Linked DNA regions of Homo sapiens: region 1 is linked to region 2. Evidence: promoter capture Hi-C in 16 types of primary human blood cells and fetal thymus (Javierre and others, 2016). All regions are on one chromosome and are shown on one strand. Each heading gives the region's core, a stretch centred on a gene start or on the middle of the fragment in contact. The rest is flanking DNA. Distances are from core to core; before and after follow the strand shown. Region 1 holds the start of DCTN6-DT (DCTN6 divergent transcript). Region 2 holds the start of PURG (purine rich element binding protein G).

What was found. The method cuts DNA at HindIII sites, captures the fragments that hold promoters and counts their contacts. A CHiCAGO score of 5 or more calls a contact.
Region 1: a contact is called between a fragment that was not itself captured here and the fragment with the promoter of PURG in region 2, in 1 of 17 cell types (fetal thymus). The highest score is 5.8, in fetal thymus.

Annotation. Positions count from the first base shown.
Region 1 is chr8:30,153,498-30,157,283 of GRCh38, forward strand. It overlaps DCTN6-DT (DCTN6 divergent transcript), which reads right to left and starts at 3,163. Exons shown (of 1, transcript NR_186490.1): 1 at 2,332-3,163. DCTN6 (dynactin subunit 6) reads left to right here and starts at 2,872. Exons shown (of 7, transcript NM_006571.4): 1 at 2,872-2,909. The coding sequence starts at 2,887. It overlaps LOC124901927 (a long non-coding RNA gene), which reads right to left. Exons shown (of 2, transcript XR_007060880.1): 2 at 3,675-3,786. RefSeq lists enhancers at 1,963-2,172, 1,997-2,979, 2,923-3,072 and a silencer at 3,133-3,242. The HindIII fragment of the contact is 2,621 bases long and covers 138-2,758 here.
Region 2 is chr8:31,031,787-31,035,725 of GRCh38, forward strand. PURG (purine rich element binding protein G) reads right to left here and starts at 1,570. Exons shown (of 2, transcript NM_001323311.2): 1 at 1,292-1,570; 2 at 1-1,002. The coding sequence starts at 996. It overlaps WRN (WRN RecQ like helicase), which reads left to right and starts at 2,024. Exons shown (of 35, transcript NM_000553.6): 1 at 2,024-2,187. RefSeq lists silencers at 1,552-1,601, 1,762-2,021, 2,992-3,061 and enhancers at 1,777-2,298, 3,132-3,181. The HindIII fragment of the contact is 5,494 bases long and covers 79-3,939 here.

The DNA.
Region 1 (3,786 bases), core at 198-2,697, 880 kb before region 2:
GAAATAAACAATTTGTGAGTTTTAAATTGCACACCATTTTGAGTAGCATGATGAACTCTCGTACCATGCTGCTCTCTCTAGGCAAGAACATGAATCATCCCTTTGTATCCACACTGTTGGTACTACCTGCCCATTAAAGCTTTCTCAGTTATCAGATACATTGTTGCAGTATCAGAGTACTTGTGTTCAAGTCACTCTTATTTTACTTCATAATGGCCCCAAAGCACAAAAGTAGCGATGCAGGTGATTTGGATCTGCCAAAGAGAAACTGTAAAATGCTTTAAGTGAAAATGTGAAAACTTCTTGATTTCAAAAGGAAAGAAAAAAAACTATATGCTGAGGTTGCTAAGATCTATGGTAAGAATAAATCTTTTACCCATGAAACTGTTAATGAGGAAAAGGAAATGTGTGCATAGTATATAGAGGGTTCAGTATTATCTGTGGTTTCAGGCATCCACTAGAGGTCTTGGAATGTATCCCCCGAGGATAAGAAAGGACTACTATACCCAGTCTAAGGTATAACTGTCCCTCAGTATGCTTGGGGAACTGGTTCCTGGACACCCTGATGCCAAAATCTGCAGATGCTCAAGCCCCTGATATAAAATGGTGTAGTATTTGCATATAACTAACTGATGCATATCCTCCCATATCCTTTCAATCATCTTTATATTATTCAGAATATCTAATACAATTCCTACATATCACTTCATTCATGTGGCTTCAATGTAGCACTTGGCATGCAGCAAATTCAAGTTTTGCTTTTTGGAAACTTGCGTAATTTTTTCCCCCAAATTTTTGATCCAACGTGGGTTGCTGTCAACCAGTCACAGATGTCAAACCCACAGATACAAAGGGCCAACTGTATTTTGTTATAGCAGCCAGAAAGAACTAAGACAGTCAAGGAGGGTTTCCCTGAGTGTGATGGTCAGTTTTTTGTGTCAACTTGGTTAGGCTACATTCCCAAGTCATTAGTCAAACACTAATCTAGATGCTGCTGTAAAGGTATTTTTGTGGATGTGATTAAAGCCCATCATCAGTTCACTTTAAGGAAGAGAGATTATCCTAGCTAATCTGGGTGGGCCTGATTCAATCAGTTGAAGGCCATAAGAGCTGAGATGGGCTTCCCTGAAGAAATTCCTCCTGTGAACAACAGCCTCACCCCTTGCATGAGAGTTCCAGCTTAGTGTACAGATTTTGGACTTGCTTAGCTGGGGCTCCACAATCATGTAAGCCAATTCCTTACAATAAGCCTTTTGATATCCATCTACTACTAGTTCTGTTTCTCTGGTTGGAAACTGAGTATGTGACATCCGAGACATAAAGGGTCAGAAGGTGTTAGGGTGGGGGCAAGTGGAAGCGGTTGGGGGTGGAGAGTCAGCTTTGCTTTTTTGGAGAATGAGGGTGTGATCGAACACATAGAAAGAGAAAGAGAGAAGTAGGCAGGGGCTGGATGTAGCTCAGAGATAGGTTATGGAAAGCAGTTTGGATTTTAGATTTTAAGAGGAAGGGGAAATAACTGAATTTGGCTCTTATTTTTAATTTTTTTCCATTAAAAAAATACATTATAGAAAAAATATATAGAGACGGGATCATGCTGTGTTGACCAGGCTGGTCTCCAACTCCTGGCCTCAAGCGATCCTCCCATCTCGGCCCCCCAAAGTGCTGGGATTACCGGTTTGAGCCACGCGCCTGGCCTCAATTTGTCTTTTAAAGGATGATTTTGACTACAAGAGAACTACTTGGATCAGGGTTGGGGGTGGGAGATGAGGAGGTGTGATTTCAGAGGCCAAGTACAGAATGAGTGAACAACTGGGAGAGACACATCGGCTGAGATTAGAGAGATGGTCCGGTAGACAAAAGTGTAAGCATGAGACCCGAGGTAGGACAAGCAGAACTTGCAGATCTATTACAGATGTAGGGGTGAGGAGTGCCAGGGTGACTCTTGAGTGTCTGGCTTGAGCAGCTAGGCAAATGGTGTGGATCAAAAAAGCAGCAGGTTGCAGGGAGGACGGCAGTGTTAATCGAAAGTCATGTTCTGTAAGTTTTAGGTTCGATACGACTCTGAGCGGAGATGTCAATTAGTCAACCGAATGTCAGGTGTGAAGATCGGCACAGAGGGCAGAACCAGAGACATTCATTAGAGAGCAAACAGGTAGAGGGCACTTAACCTATAGGAAGGATGCACTCATATAGAGCGAGAAAAGGGCCAGAAGGAGCCCTAATGAGTAGAGAAAGACAGGCTGAAAAGGACATCGGCGAGGTCAGAGAAATACCTTTAGGGTGTAATTACGCCTACGCGAGTGGGTAAAATGAGGGCATAATGACGCGGACTGGATTGCAATAAACAGCTTTTATTCTTTTATCAGAGACACGATCTAGCTTTTTAGCCCAGGCCGGAGTGCGGTGGCATCCTCACAGCTCGCTGCAGCTTCACTGGGCTCAGGCGATCCTCTCGAGTAGCTGGGGTACAGGCGCAGGCCACCGTGACAGGCTTTTTTTTTTTTTTTTTTTTTTTTTTTTTGAAGAGAGGGTCTCACTATGTTACCCAGGCTAGTCTCGCAGTCTGGCACTCCTGGCCTCAAGCGATCCTCCTGCCTCGGCCTCTCGGCCTCCCAAAGTGCTGGCCTGTGCCCAGTCAATGGCTGTTCCAAATTAGGGTCTACCCATCTCTATGCAGGGCTAAAGTCCGCGGGCGGCCCCGCACCGCTACCAAAAGTACAGTCCTGTGCGCCCAGACGCGACGCAAACAAGAGTCGCAAGCTTCCGGGTCCCCGCCCCACCCCGGCTCCGCCCCTCCCCCAACCCTGCCAGGCTCTCCAATCGCATGTGGAATTATCGCTCTACCCAGGCGGTGGTGTCGATCTACGTTCCAATTGGGGCCGTACCATGGCGGAGAAGACTCAAAAGAGGTGGGTTTGCTGCTTGAGAAAAGCCTTTTCTCAGCTTTCCGTAGGGGTGGAACCTGTTCCTGGTCGCCAATGGTGGCGACTCAGAAGGTGTCTCATCCTGGGCATTCGGGCCGAAGGTACCTGAAGCCCAGACCTGGCGTCCACTGAGGGAGGGGGCGACGGAGTGGGGGCGGGGAGGGTTGAGAAGGGACGCGGAGTCGCTGCCTGGAAGGTTTTTGTTCCTGTCTGGCCGTCCCTCCCCACATGCGCCTGCGCAGAGGGGGTCTCCCGGCCGGGAGGGCGGGGGGGGCTGTGAGGGGAGGGTGACGTCAGCTTTTTCCTGGGGAAGGCCGGCTCCCTTCTCCCGCATAATCGGCGGTGCTTGGCGCCGCTGTACCCCACGGCTTGGCGCTGGATTCTCTGCTGCATGTTGCGAGACCCCCACGCCAGTGCTGGCCGCACCCCAGGCCCTTCCTGTCTCTGGAGGGTGGGGTGTGTAAAGGGATTTACGGTCGCTGTCAAAAGGGGGGCCGCGCCTGGACTTGAACTGTGACACACACACACACACATTATATAGATGCAAGGAGTACTTGCGCAGATTTGTTGCATAGATAAATTGCGTAATGGTGAAGTTGGCTTCTAGTGTACTTACCACCCAAATAGTGAACATTGTATCAGATGGGTAATTTTTCAGCCCTCAAACCCCTCCTACCCTCGCTGCTTTTAGAGTCCCCAGTGTCTGTTATTTCCCTCTTTATGTTTATGTGTACTCATTTTAGCTCCCACTTAAAAGTGAGAACATGTGCATTTGATTTTATTTCTGAGTTATCGCGTAAGGTAATGGCCTCCAGTTCCATCCATGTTGTTGCAAAAGACATGTTTCCTTTCTTTTTGATGG
Region 2 (3,939 bases), core at 320-2,819:
TCTCTTTTCTTTATGGCTGTTGCAAATTTTCCTCATCTCTTCTTCATACTTGATAAAATTCTCCCCAAACCTTGTCCAAGCTTTGAATGGAACAGTAATAGTATTACGGTAAGGTGGTCTCACCTCACTTACCTTCAGGAAAATTCCATATTTATTAGAGCCCACATCAAAGTAGAACCTTTTATTGTCCACTCTGAAAGAAGTCCCCTCTGGGAGTTCAAGCGGGTCATCGTCTCCACCTCTTCGTTCTTCTATGTCTCCTTCGCCATAGTCTTCAATCAGCTGAACCAAGGCATCACGAAACTCAATCATTCCTTGTGCTGGGAGGACAATAGTCTGTTCTTGGCCCAAACTGTGGCCAAAATAACCTATCATGCCAGTCCCCCGCATCATGGTTTGTCTAATCCGTAGGAAGCGACCCCGCTGATTTTCCTTTAGGTCTAGGTAATATTTCCTATTGTCCCTCTCGATATAGTCTGTTTTCAGGACACTGTGAGGATGCTCTTCGGACCCCACCGAGACTGGTGGGGAGGGTGCCGAGTGCTTCTGCCTCCTTCTGGAGCCTTGCTCTTTGCTGTGGCCATGCTCTTGCCGGTGGCCTTTCAGGCCCAGGTGGGCATAGTGCTCGATGAAGTCCCCTAGACAGTCCTTCAGCTCCGCTGCCACAGACAGGGAGAGGGTCAGTTTACTCTTTCTGATGTTGTCCTGCCGGCCTCTCCCTATCCAGACTTCGGCTATCTTTAGGAAGCGGCCCCGGGAGCTTTGCTTCACGTCTAGGTAAAACCTCTTTTTCTGGATGTCCACTCGTTTGGAGGCCAGCTCCTGGATTTCGGCTGCGCCCCCGGCCTGATTAGGGGTGGCTGAGGCCGCGTAGTGGGGGTAGTGGGAGTGCTGGGCCTGGGGATAGAGTCTACTCTTGCTTAGGCCAGAGCCCCCTACATTCTTGCCTCCGCGGCCGCGGCCGCCGCCGCCTCCCCTTCGCCTGGCTCTTTCCATCTTCAGCTGCAAGTAACAAACAGACACACGGGATGGGGTGGGGGAGGGGTGTTGAGAACAATCGCAGACGCCCCTCGGCCTGACCGCCCCGCCGCCGCCCGCGACCCCCACGCCGGGCCCGGCTCCCCCGGCGCCGCAGCGCGGGGCTCCAGCCACTGCCGGCCGGTTGGCGGCCGCCGCTCCGGCTCTGCCCGCGCTCCCCGCATCCCTCCGCCGCCCCCGGGGCCGCTCCCGCACGCCGCCGCCGCCCGTCCCGCGCTCCGCGGCCCCAGGTCTCCAGCCGGCGGGCACTCACATCATCTCTGCCATCACCGCCGCCGCCGATGCCCTTCACGACCACCGCCGCCGCCACCGCCAGCTCTCGGCCCCTCTGCTGCAGCCGCCGCAGCCGCCGCCCCCCGCCTCCTCCCCCGCCGCCGCCGCTCGCACTGCCCCCCGCCGGAGCAGCCGGGCAGGGGCATCGCCCGCGGCGCCCACCGCAGCCGCCCCTCCTGCGGCCGCTGCGGGGGCCGCCGCCTGACTTCGGACACCGGCCCCGCACCCGCCAGGAGGGGAGGGAAGGGGAGGCGGGGAGAGCGACGGCGGGGGGCGGGCGGTGGACCCCGCCTCCCCCGGCACAGCCTGCTGAGGGGAAGAGGGGGTCTCCGCTCTTCCTCAGTGCACTCTCTGACTGAAGCCCGGCGCGTGGGGTGCAGCGGGAGTGCGAGGGGACTGGACAGGTGGGAAGATGGGAATGAGGACCGGGCGGCGGGAATGTTCTCACTTCTCCGGATTCCACCGGGATGCAGGACTCTAGCTGCCCAGCCGCACCTGCGAAGAGACTACACTTCCCGAGGTGCTCAGCGGCAGCGAGGGCCTCCACGCATGCGCACCGCGGCGCGCTGGGCGGGGCTGGATGGGCTGTGGTGGGAGGGTTGCAGCGCCGCGAGAAAGGCGAGCCGGGCCGGGGGCGGGGAAAGGGGTGGGGCAGGAACGGGGGCGGGGACGGCGCTGGAGGGGCGGGTCGGGTAGGTCTCCCGGAGCTGATGTGTACTGTGTGCGCCGGGGAGGCGCCGGCTTGTACTCGGCAGCGCGGGAATAAAGTTTGCTGATTTGGTGTCTAGCCTGGATGCCTGGGTTGCAGGCCCTGCTTGTGGTGGCGCTCCACAGTCATCCGGCTGAAGAAGACCTGTTGGACTGGATCTTCTCGGGGTAAAGTGTCTTCCTATTCCCGTTTTCCCAGCTCCGTGCCCCGGGGTATCTATAGTGCTAGGCTTCTGAGACACGTGGAGGCGCTTAGGCCCGCGGAGCAGGCCCCTGGGCTGTGTTTGGGAGATTCTGGAAAAACAGACTTTCTCCCTTTTCCTTTCCCCTCTGGAGCAGCTGGGAAAGGCGTCTCTCGGAGCTTCCGCCATTCAGAAAGTGTTTCCCCGCCCCTGACGGCCCCAGCTTGATGTTTACCTTGCGCGCTTAGTTAGGATTGCTCTTTCTAGTACGGCCTTTATTATGGCAGAAATTGAGCCACTACAGGTCTGCACAGCAAAGTCGAGGGAAATAACCTGCTGTCTATGATTTAGCAAGTGATGATGGATATTTTTGAGTTCAAATCACTCAGTCTTTAATGGATTTTCTTTTCTTTTTTTCCTAGTTGAATCTCAGTTGTTCTCAGGCTAGGTTTGATATGAAAAATACTACTCCCTATTGAAGAGGGTAATATAATTCTTAGGATGCTAATACAGGAGTCTGTAAGTCGGAGTACTTCAGGCTTTTTATGGTTCGGTACATTTCTTTTTAGGGGTGGGATATTGGGATAAGTAGGACAGTTCAGATCTTGATGTCATTGAATAGTGGTGTCTACCTAAAAGGAAGAGGCTGGGGCACAAAATTATAATTTAAAGTGTTTACTTCAGCCAAAATGAGGACAGCTGCCCAGGACTCATTTCCCAGTTGCCTTGGGGAGTGCTCCTTCAGCCTTGGTTACAAGCAGGTTTTTAAAGGCGAAGGGGAAGAGTGGGCTGAGACAAAGTTGGTCAGGAATTGTTATTGGTTTACAGAGATACCATTGCTTAGTGATTGGCTGTACACTGTAACTCATAGGGTATGAGTTATCGTGTCCAGCATATGGCATTTTATGGCTTCTTGGTTCCAGTCTAGAGCCCATATAGCAGGTGGGCTTTAAGAGATAATTATCCAGCTCAGACCGGGAGTGAGACGGGACTGTTTTTTCATTCTAATGCCTCTCTGGGCCTGATAATTTAAAGGGGCTTGCATTCTTCAGCTAAAATTTTATTTTCTTTTATTTTTTTTCCCCCACAGTGGTCTCCCTTTATTAATCCAACAAATGTTTATTAAGGACTGCTCTAGGCACTAGAGATACCAACAATGAACAAAACAGACAAACATCTCTCTCCTTTTGGAGCTTACATTTTAGTGGAAAGAGACAGGCAAAAAGTAAAATTATAGGATGACAGAAGGTGAAAATAGAGATTAAAAAGGAAAGGGGGATGAAGAGTGTGTGTGTGTGTTGTGGGTGGGGGGCTGTAGGGAGCTGCAGTTTTACAATAAGTGGTCAGGGACGTCCTCGCTGAGAAGGGAATTTTTGAGTCCAGAGCTCAAGGAAGTGAGAGAACTTACCTTGACGTTCTCTGGAGGAGAAGAAAGTACAAAGGCCCTGGGGGAACCTGCCTCTTTATGTTCAGAGAGCAACTTAAGAGGCCTAGTGAGCTGGAGCAGAGCGGAGAGGAGGTCAGAGGTCAGGCCAGAAAGGGAAAGGGGCCAGAATGTGTAGGACTTTATGGGCTATATTGAAAATTGGGGCTTTCATTCTGAGGGAGATGGGAAGCTGTTGGAGAGTTGTTAGGGAAACGTGATCTGAATTATGTTTCTAAAAAATTGGAGTAAGATATCATAAAATTTGCCATCTTAGTCTTTTTTGTATCTGGCCAATTCCACTCAGAATTCTTT